Linked DNA regions of Homo sapiens: all the other regions are linked to region 2. The links are contacts of gene promoters, found by promoter capture Hi-C in human tissues and cell types (Jung and others, 2019). All regions are on one chromosome and are shown on one strand. Each heading gives the region's core, a stretch centred on a gene start or on the middle of the fragment in contact. The rest is flanking DNA. Distances are from core to core; before and after follow the strand shown. Region 1 has its middle 170 kb from the start of DLGAP1. Region 2 holds the start of DLGAP1 (DLG associated protein 1). Region 3 overlaps DLGAP1 (DLG associated protein 1). Region 4 overlaps DLGAP1 (DLG associated protein 1).

What was found. Contacts are between HindIII fragments. The study calls those that stand out against the background at their distance.
Region 1: a fragment that was not itself captured here is called in contact with the fragment with the promoter of DLGAP1 in region 2 in 1 of the 25 tissues and cell types used here (lymphoblastoid cells).
Region 3: a fragment that was not itself captured here is called in contact with the fragment with the promoter of DLGAP1 in region 2 in 3 of the 25 tissues and cell types used here (H1 embryonic stem cells, dorsolateral prefrontal cortex and hippocampus).
Region 4: a fragment that was not itself captured here is called in contact with the fragment with the promoter of DLGAP1 in region 2 in 2 of the 25 tissues and cell types used here (dorsolateral prefrontal cortex and lymphoblastoid cells).

Annotation. Positions count from the first base shown.
Region 1 is chr18:4,626,210-4,628,909 of GRCh38, forward strand. No RefSeq gene overlaps it. Among named protein-coding and RNA genes, the nearest start is that of DLGAP1, 170 kb to the left of the region's middle. The HindIII fragment of the contact is 3,541 bases long and covers 1-2,700 here.
Region 2 is chr18:4,453,997-4,456,696 of GRCh38, forward strand. It overlaps DLGAP1 (DLG associated protein 1), which reads right to left and starts at 1,311. Exons shown (of 13, transcript NM_004746.4): 1 at 1,010-1,311. RefSeq lists a silencer at 1,331-1,460. The HindIII fragment of the contact is 8,504 bases long and covers 1-2,700 here.
Region 3 is chr18:4,203,118-4,205,817 of GRCh38, forward strand. All of the region lies in intron 1 of DLGAP1 (DLG associated protein 1), which reads right to left. Among named protein-coding and RNA genes, the nearest start is that of DLGAP1-AS5, 60 kb to the right of the region's middle. The HindIII fragment of the contact is 4,142 bases long and covers 1-2,700 here.
Region 4 is chr18:4,307,599-4,310,298 of GRCh38, forward strand. All of the region lies in intron 1 of DLGAP1 (DLG associated protein 1), which reads right to left. Among named protein-coding and RNA genes, the nearest start is that of DLGAP1-AS5, 44 kb to the left of the region's middle. The HindIII fragment of the contact is 5,265 bases long and covers 1-2,700 here.

The DNA.
Region 1 (2,700 bases), core at 148-2,647, 170 kb after region 2:
ATAAAGATTATTCTATATTTGTAACAGATTTATTATTTTGATTTTCTTCCTTAGGTCTACTATGAACATAAATTGATTTTGTGTGTGTGCATGAAGTAAGGTAGAGGATAGTTTTTTCTTTTTTCCAGTATGGATAGCGAACAGTTCAGGCATCATTTCTCAAAAAGACTATCTTTCTCTCCCACTTCTGCAGTGCCACCTTTATCATAAATCAAGTGTCCATGGTCACTGGGATCTGTTTCTATTCTGCTTTACTTGGTTCTTCTGTCTTTGTGCCAGGACCGCACTTTAATTTCTGTAGCTTTATGTTAAATGCTGGCAGTATAGCAGGTCCTCTCTTCTCAACTCTTCCAGAGTTTCTTCACTATTTTCTATCATTGTACTTCATATACATTTTAGAATCAACCTTTCAAGCTCCACCAAAAAATAGTTTATATTAAATAAAAAGTTCAGATTTTGACTAAAATTGCACACTGGAACTACGAGTCAATTTGACAACATTTACAATATTGAATCTACCAATCCATAAACATGGTTTATCCCCTCTCCCCATTTCTTTGGATATTTCTTTCACTACAGTTTTATAGTTTCTTTTTTTGGTCAAAACGTGCATACTTTAGGACGTAATATTCCTAAATACTTAATAATGTATCTCTAGATTCTTCTGCATTCTCTAAATATTCAAACACAATAATAACATTTTTATTTTGTCCTTTCAATTCTTAAAACTTTATTATTCTGTCTTATTGCCCTGGCCAAGACTTCCAGTGCAATGCTGAACAGAACCAGATATAGCAGGCATCTTTCTTTTTAGTCAATCTCAAGGAAAGCACTTGATGTCTCTAAACAGATACTCTTCCTTGAATTAAAAACAGCCCTACTATTAAATATTTCAGTCTTTAAAAAAATCAATTAAAAGAAGAGGGTAATATGTACTTCACAAGATTGTTTTATGTATTTAAAAAGATACTTTACATATAGTGTCTGGTGTAGATATCGCCTTAAAAATGGAAGCTTGTCTTATTACTAAGTCTTGAGTGGTGAGGACCATGGGCAAGGGAAAGTCCCCTTCAGAATAACCAAAAGATGTGAGTACAGCAAATTATATCTGATATGTTCATTCTATTTTGAAATTAATTATAAAGGAAGACAATCTCTCTTTGTAACTAAAACCAGACTTCATGTCCCAGTTCCCTACCCCACACTCTAACCTGAGGTGCTCATAAAGGTGAAGGTTACGAGGCTAAGGTGGGACTGTGAATTCATGTCACACTGCACTGCAGGGCTCTGGACTGCTCACACGTACATTTCACCCTGTTATTCCTGAGGCGTTTTTGGTTTGCAAAAACAATGGAAAGGCAGAAAGTGACCTAGTTGGAGTTGGGAGAGGCGGGAAAAACGTTCTCAGCATAGTTTTGAAGATCATCTCCTCCTCCATAGGTGAGCCACAGACACAGATGCTAGTTGTATCGGAAGTTGGCAGATGTTCTAAAGAAGAGGGTGAAGGATGAAGAGGTGGGAGCTTCTGTTCTAGGCTAGGCTGTGATGTTCCTACTTGCTCTTTTAAATATATTCTTTCTTCAGTCAGTAGCTCACAGAAATAACAATGGCCTCAAACACCCACTCTCCCTCCTCACATCTGCCTAACCTTCTATCCTTCTTAAAAGTAATGTGTTTCACTGCTTTGGGAAATTTTGAAAGAAAACGAGGCTTTTCAACCCCAATTTAAAAATTATTGACCATGTTCTACCAAGTGTTCACACTCTCAATCCCCAATAGAGACTAAATATAAATTTCCTGAAAAGCAAAAATGTATACTGTGTGATTCAGGTATATATACCTGAATATATGTGCATATATACCTGAATCTGTGATAATATAAAAGACAGGCAGTATGAACTGGGACTATAAAGAGTTGAGAAAAGGGTTGCTTGTGGTGTCTATTAGGGACGAAACACTAACAATACTTGGAATAATTTTCTATGAGGAGTAAGTGAAGAGCCAAAATTAGAAGTGAATTGCAGATCATAACCATGAATAGTGGAATGGCGTTGCCATTAACAAACATGAGGAACCCTGGAGGCGACGTGAGTTTGGGAGGCCAAATTCTGAATGTAATTTAGGGCATGCTGCATTGGAATCAAGAGGCTATTAGGTAAAGACACAAAAGTGACTATAGGGCTATTTTGAGAGAATGTATCAAGATCATACATATATGTAAATATATGTCTATACATATATGTGAGTGTATGGGTACACACATGGCTAAACATAAAACCAGTGATCTTGATGAATAGACCTTATCAGTTTACAGCAGGTCCTAGGATAAGGTTGTTTCATAACAATATTGATGAGAAAAAACAAACTGGTTCCTGACCAGGACCACTGTCTGTGTGGAGTTTGCACATTCTCCTCGCATCTCTGTGGGCTTTCTTCTGGTTACCTCCCACATCCCAAAGCTGTGTGAGTGAGTATGGGGTGTGTGTGACTGAGTGGCCCTGCAAGGGTGGTATCCTGTCCAGGCCTGGCCCCGCCTTACACCCTGATCTGCCAGGACAGGCTCGGCCACCTATGACTCTGAACTGAAACATTTGGGTATTAATGATCTTTCTTGTTTTTCTTAATCTTTCTTAAATGTGTGTATAGCTCACATTTATTTCAATGTTTAAAATTAGAAGTGTTTTGGCCTTTATTTAGAAA
Region 2 (2,700 bases), core at 61-2,560:
AGCCCTGCAGCCGGGGGCGAGCGCGGCACTCGGACACAGGCACTCAGTGTCTCCGGCGCCGGCAGCCGAGCCACGGGCCACCCCTTCCCACGGCCTCCCGGTGCCACCCAGCGAGGCCGGGACAGCGCGCCTTCCGCAAAAAGCGCAGCAGCCGAAGTCCTGAAAGCAGGGTCTTCATCGCCGCGGGCCCTCCGAAGGTGCCTCTCCCAGCTGCAGCCGCCCCTCAATGAAAGTGCAATGTGTTATCTCGCCCAGCCCAGAGGAGAGGTCCCTGTTTGGCCTTGGTTCCAGCCCGGCTCATTCAATTCGCTGAATGTCGGGTCTCCCGGCCCGCCCCGCGATTCTCCGGGAATTGGCCTTGGCCGCGGGCAGGGGGCGACTCTCCAGTGACCTCCTCCTTGGACCCCATTTCTCTCTCTCTCTCTCTCTCTGTGCCTGTCTTTGTGTCTCTGTTTCTTTGGCTTTCTCTTACAAACGCACGGGGGAGTTGGTCCTTTTCCACAATGCCAAAATGTCACCCAAAAAGCTAGTGCAACAACTTGCTTTGCAAACGACCCAGGAGCCTGCCGAGAAAGCCCTGCGGGGAGCAGCCCCCTCCTCCCCTGCAAGGTGCATCGGGGGTGGGGTGGGGGTGCGAATTTGACCGGTGGACATGACCGGGACAGGGGACCGGTGTTCTCCTCCCCTCCCCCTTCCGGGACCCTGTCGCAATTAGAAATCCTTCCCCTGCCTGGGTCCCCGTGGGGAGCCGCGAGGACCGCATGGCCGGAGAGGACGCGCTCGCCCCCGAGATCCCAGGTTACCCGGAGGGCCCGGGAGTGCACCCCGGGCGGCTGAAAGGGTAAGGAGCGCGGACTCTCGAGCCAGCGGCCGGGGGAGCCCAGCCCGCAGCCCCTCCGCGGGCGAGGGAAGCGGCGACCGCGCGGCAGGCAGCAGCCAGGAGCCACCCAGCGCGCCGCGACCGCCGCCGCCGCGCACGCCCCAGCCCCGCGGCGCAGCCCGGCGTTACCTGGCCGCGTCCCGCAGTCCGGCCCTCGCTGGCTGCGTCCGTCCGTTGGTCCCACGAGCCTCGGAGGAAGGAGAGAGATGTCCCCGCGACCAGGACCGGCTCTCAGCGAGGTGACGGGAAGGACTCGAGAGAGGAGCCGAGGCGGCGGCGGCCGTTCGCGCCGCCTATGCTGCCGATTCCCCGAGGCGGAAGGTGTCCGCGAGGCCGTGTCCTGGAGATTGCGGCGCCCGAAGCGCAGCGCTCGCCTCTGGAGCGGAGGCTGAGCGCCGGGACGCGGCGGGCTGGGGCTGCAAGGCTGGGCTGGTGACCCGCCCCTGGGTGCATGTTAATACGGTGGGGAGGAGGAGTCCCGCGCTTCCTCCGCCCAACCACCGGAGCCGGCGGGCGGGCGGCGGCCGCGGCCCGGAGCCAGCCGCTCCCACCCGCCCCAGCTACTACGGCGCGGCGCGACCGCGGGCTCCGGCCCCAGCCCAGGCACGTGCGCCCAGGCCGCGGGGAGGCGCCGGCGCCTCCCGGAACGCGCTCCTGGCCTGCGAGTGCTGCCCGCTCAGTCTCCGGGTGGGAAGTGCGCTCGCCCCGGACCGAGGGGAAAGCCCAACATCCCCGGGATGGAACAGAGAGGCGGCCACCCGTGAGTGGGCGTGACCCATTGGTTCCCTTGCGCAGCATCTGTGGAGAATTAAGCTTTCCCCTCCTCTCTTGCCAGCCGTTGTTCCTAATCTTGTCTTTTTTAAGGGAGGAAAGCAGGAGAACTCATGACACTTTGTATCACAGGAAATCAAGTTGGTGGACAGAGGGTTTGCTGACCTCTCCCGTCCCTCCTCAGGGTCCCTAGGAGAATTTTTGAAGAAGTAATCGGCAGCAAGGAGATGGGGGCAATAGAGAGTCTCAGACTCGCAGGGACCCATGTTCGTCCCCAGCGCCACTACTTTCAAACCGTTATCCCTCAGAGCTGTTTCCTCACCTCCACAACAACTCTCCCGGGTTCGATGACACTATATATCCCACCAGTTCATCTTGGTACAGGCCAAAAGGTAATTCAAAAAGCGAAACGAATCTCATCTCCTGACCTGTGCCCTCGGTAAAGTCCCCAGGTTCCACCCCAAGTACACTTGGAAGCCAGGCCCCTCCACACAGGCTGAGCACCACGCTTCCACAAACTGAAAACAGAGAGAATCCACTTGGTTTCAAAGTTAGAATAGGGATAGCGGCGTGAGTGGGTGAATTGCGATGTGGGTCAAGGAGAGAAAAAAGTAAATCAATTAAGTATTTATTGAGCTCCTGCGCTGCCCACTTAATTGCAAACGTTACAGTAGTTAAAATAATCGTGGTTAATCACTGCCTTATTATTTCCTTCTATTAAAAAAAGAAATGGCATCTTCATGGAGAATGTCCTTTGTTCTACAGCTTCCTGAGGGAATATTATGCCAAAAAGTACATAATCTTTATGTAATTTTATCCAGAAGTTATAGCATAAGATTTAGCATCTGTTTTGTGTGATGTCTAATTATAAATATTAATAGAATATCCTTTTAAAGACAACACTTCTAAAAATGCAAGGAAGTGAAAAACAGTTTTCATAAAAATATGACTCAGATAAATAACCTCTTTCCTGCAATTTCACTGAGTGATTTTCCATTAAAGAAAATAACAATTACTGAAACCACTAAATGGAGGTAAATTCTCAGCAT
Region 3 (2,700 bases), core at 62-2,561, 250 kb before region 2:
ACAAAAAATTAGCTGGGCGTGGTGGCGGGTGCCTGTAGTCCCAGCTACTTGAGAGGCTGAGGCAGGAGACTTGCTTGAACCCGGGAGGCGGAGGTTGCAGTGAGATGAGATCGCGCCACTGCACTCCAGCCTGGGCAACAGAGAGATTAAAAAAAAAAAAAAAAAGATACTCTTATAAAAGTGTGTTATTTTAAAGCATAAATATAGTATAAAATACTCTCTAGTTGCAAGAATGCATCCTTGAAATATTCATTAAATATTTTCTAAGGGCCCACATTTGTCATGAGGAAATATTTTAAGAACGGGTAGAATCGAGTTCCATTTTTCAAATCTTTAATATAGAAGCAGATATCAATTAATCTTTTAAAAACACAATTTTGTTTGCCATGAGCTTTTATTTGGGCTTCTACTTTGACACATGTTTTAGCTTTAAGGTATCTTAAAACGTAGGGGCATTTAAGCTTTTAGATCTCATAAAACTTCCTGAGAACATGCTCTGACTCAGTCAGGCCCAGAAAACAACCACTCTTTCTTCCTTTTCTCCCTCCCTGAAACATTTCCTGAGGGCCTCTCTGGTTCATGGTAACATGCTAGGCTCAGGGGAACACAATGATGACTAATACAACATGGTACTTGGCTTTGGAAGTTCATAGGTCAGTGGAAATGCAGAAATATACACATCTAATTACAGCACAACTCAGTAAGTTCAGTAATAAATGTATATGAACACAGGGTGCTTTGAGGCACAGAAGAGCAGCTTCCTACTCAGCCCGAGGAGGTCAGAAAGAACTCAGAAGAGGAGGCACTGAATTAATGCTTCAGCTGTTTTTCAAAATGCTTTCCTGGTAGCATCTCCGCAAACACAAGAAGCTTAGGATTTACCATGCTTCTAGATTTGACTGTCAAATAACACATGGTCCATAATTTTAAATCTGGTTGACTACAAAACTCTTCATTGTGAAAATAGGAAGTAACAGAAACCCAGTCATTATGCATTCATCTTCTATAATATTTAACTCGGCTTAATCGCCATAATTCTTTCAACTGTCTGTACATAATAGTGTCAATAAAACTAGAAGAGTTTGAATAGGTACTAAGGAGCAAACTCTTTTAAGATAATCTTCTTTTTAAAAAATGGTACTAACAGCAGCCTCAAAAACACAGCAGATTGCTTCGCTTTCCATAAAATCAGGACAAGAAGGTTGTTATTCTTTTCATTCTCCAGTAAGCTCAAAAGGTGGGAATCTTGCCAAGACAACTCAATGGGCAGGAAGTCATTTTCTCAGGAAATTTCAAAAATATCATTAATTCACTTTGATCTTTTACAATGATTATAAAACATTCATAAGGATGGCTGTATCTAGCAGTTTTAACTGACAGGACTGTTGTGGTTTTTTTTTTGTTTTTGTTTTTTTTTCTGACCGCAGTGCATCACATTAAAAACACCCTCCCTCCTCACCATCAATTTCACAGTGGAAAATCCAGGCAAAGTGTTTTATTCTTGCTTAACCTTGAAAGATATATGGTGTGCTCAATTGAAAAATCTATTACTTAATTAGTTTTAAGAGGTTTGACATCAAACAGGAATACATTTGAAATGTAGATGAAGTAAGAGGTAAAAAAAATTCAGTTTAGAATTGTAAAGGGACATGTTGGATGTTCCATGAAGGTCAAAGTCAATTCCTTTCCTTAAGTTCCCTCAAAAGACTTATATGCACGGAAGTATTCAGTGGTGGTAACTGAGGTGAGCCTTTTCCCAATTTTTTTTTTTTTTTGTGGTTTGTTTTCTTTCATAATCCATTTGAACTTTGGCTTGACTCTTCTTCCCCCCAACATATTAACTATCCATCATACATAATAATTTTGAAATCTGCTTTCTAACTGATTGCTTAAGGGGAAAATTAAGATTAAAGATAACAGACAAGAAAACAAATAATTACCAGGGAGTACTTTCAGTGCTTCAGTGCAGAATATACAAGTTGCTGTGGGAACCCTGAAAAGCATGTTGACAGATGCCTGAGGAGGTAATAGGAAGCTTTTCAGAAGTCACATGTGAACATGGCCTTTCAGGATTTGTAGATGTTCTCGGGAGGTTAAGAGGAGAAAGAGTAGTATCAGAAAAAACCACATACAAACCAGCACACATACACAGTAGGTGAGAACAAGTGGTCCTTTAGGAGATCTGAAGGGGTGCCATGGTGGTGTGTGTCTACGGCATATGGCACTAAGTGGATGGGATAGGAGGGGGCGATGAGAAGCTATGGTTGGTCTGTGAAGGATCTTGCAGGTTATGCCAATGATTGTAGATTGTATCCTTTGGACCTGCACTATCTGATATGATAGCCACTATCTACCTGTGGCCATTTACATTTCTTTCTTTCCTTTCTCTTTTTGAGACAGGGTCTCATTCTGTCACGCAGGCCAGCATGCAGTGGTGTGATCACAGTTCACAGTAAAGTCAAATTCCTGGGCTTCAGTGATCCTCTGGCCTTAGCCTCCCAAACTGCTGGGATTATAGGCATGAGCCACCATGCCCAGCCTTAAATGTCAATGAAAAATAAATACACCAATTCAGTTCCTCAGAGGCACTAGCCACATTTCAAGTGCTCAATAGCCACATGTGACTCATGGCTATCATAATGGATAACACAGAGAATGTTTCCATTTCACCCCAAATACTAATAGACAGTGCTGCTTAAA
Region 4 (2,700 bases), core at 44-2,543, 150 kb before region 2:
GTGCACCAGCCACAGAAATAGAACACGGCAGAGCCAGGCGGCAGGGCCTGCAGTCTCTGCACTCTGCCCCGCCAGCACTCTGTCCCTCAGGTAGCAAACTTGAGGGTTTACTTTTTTTTTTTTTTTTTTTTTTTTGAGGCAGAGTCTTTTTCTGTCACCCAGGCTGGAGTGCAGTGGCATGATCTCAGCTCACTGCAACCTCCATCTCCTGGGTTCAAGCTATTTTCCTGCCTCAGCCTCTCGAGTTGCTGGAATTACAGGCATGCGCCACCACGCCTGGCCAATTTTTGTATTTTTAGTAGAGATGGGGTTTCGCTACATTGGCCAGGCTGGTCTCAAACTCCTGACCTCAGGTGATTCCCCTGCCTCACCTCCCAAAGTGCTGGGATTACGGGCATGAGCCACCGTGCCCGGCCGAGGGTTTGCTTTATACCTGTCCCTGTACTACACTTCACACCTGTCATCCCATCTGAATGTTACCACAAACTGATGAGCAAGGCACTACTGTTGTTCACTTATGCACAAGAGGAAACTGAGGCTTATAGGGACTAAGTCACTTGAGGAAGACTGCTTGTCTGATAATTGGTGACTGGGTGACCCAAAGACTCTCTCCTGCCCTACAGCGCAAGTTTCTACTCACTGCCCTCTGCCTTTGCTCTACCAAATATCTGCAACCATGCAGAGGTACTCTATAACTGTACTGATTTCTACCAGGACTTAATAAACATAAACTTATTTTGAGCTACATAAAAATATCTAATAAATATGATAAATATGCTAGAATCATGAAACAGTGATCAAAACTACTGTATCTAATGGCTGCTCTTTAAAATAATCTGTGTATTACAAGCTGTAATAGCTCCAGTGACATTTTCAACTTCATGGAAGATAAATTTAACTAGAAAACTCCAATTATGGAAAGAATTATTTTTGTACCATACGTATAACTTTAAACATCCAATTTCATTCAGATATAGGAAAATCATAAAACCTTTCCATCAGATTAACAATAAAAACACAAGGACTACCCCCAAACTTACCTGACAAAGAATTAAATTAAAAGGTTTAAATTGGTACAAATAGTAGTAGGTCTATGATTGAGACTCAAGTAGGAAAGGGGAAGAAAAACCGGAACAACTTCAATTTCTATGTGAAGAGCTGGCGGCAAATCTAATTAACAACACAAAGCCTCAGGCGAAGAAGCTGCTATTCTACCCTTTGCCAAATAAAATGAACTTCATCTTTTAAAAGCTCCAGCCAAGCTAAAATAAGTTACTAAATGGTAAGACGTGTGAAATCCAAGCCCTTTAAAGATACAGAGGCCAGAACAACAAATGTAATTGCTTCATTCCTTAACAAGCGGATTGAAAAGTAAACACCTTGTGGTCATTATAACAACTAAGTCATATAAATATATTTGATGCAGTATAAAATAAAATAACGCCTATAGAAATATTCCATACACTGTAGGCCTCTACAGTTATCGGGTAAGATGTAGGTAGGTAGGTAAGACATGACAACACACATGGCTTTGCTTTCAACTAAGGGCTTGGTTACCTGTACAGTTTCTGGTGATAGCATCCATTGAGAATACACACTTTGTTCAGCATTGTGCTTTGGGGTTCAAGGATAAATTTACAGTATCATACATGTACTTCAGGCCTTCAAACCGCTTGGGGAAATGGAAAGAGCGCACATAGCAATAGCACTAAATATATGGCGGAAGATAAGCCAGTGCTGAATTTTGTGGGTCAGGTGAGAAAAGTTTTAAAATGCTGAGGGAGGTTTCAAAAGCAAGAGAGTGCAAGAGAATTTGCAGAGTTTGCAGATTTGATGGGATTTAGAACAGTAGAAGGAGGGGGCATGGATGAGGAGGTCAGCTCTGGAAGGCTGAGTCAGGATGAACTAAGCACTAAGAAGAGCCTCTATCTTCCCCGAAACTTTAATCACAGAACTGAAATACAAAGAGAAATAAAAAATCGTTTAGCCCATTTTTTTTCTTCCTTAGTCCAATGCCCACTGTCAGTGGAGAAGGAAAGATGCTGTAATTACAAAAGCCAAGGAAGCAACATGATGTCTTAGAGAAAAAGTGACAGCTTCGGATTTCTAGGAATGAGGTCAAATTCTCACTCCAGAAGTTTCCTCCCCTAGTGACCTAGGACAACTTATTTAGCATTTCTAAACCTCAGTTTTCTTATGTATCAAATGGGGGCATTAATAGTCAAAGAGTAAAAAAGGCTCCACAGGCTTTTTGAAAATGAAATTCAGATGAGATAATGTTTAGCTTCTTTCTCTTACACCATCTCTTCTCCACCTCTAGAGAAGGGCCTGAGTATCCGCTCTGCTTCAGTGTGAGTGGCTTCTTGGACACTGGTGATATTATGAAATAATTTTTCCCACTCCAGGCTAGACTTGAGGACTAAATATTGTGTGATCTAGCCATATTTTTGTATCTAATTCAATTGCAGGAGAAATGGGAAAGCTTCAATTAACACATTTTGTTAGAAGACCTAGGCTCTGACCTCACCTAGGAGATACTTCTGTGAAGGACTTATACCAGGATTTGGTTGGGTTAGAATCGTTCCTGTGGGAAATGAGACTCCTCATTCAGAAGATACTTTCCAGTTTCTTGGGTGTGAGTTTTTTTTTAATTGCATTAGATTACACATTTTCTCCTTTTTTTGTTGTTTTTACTGTTAA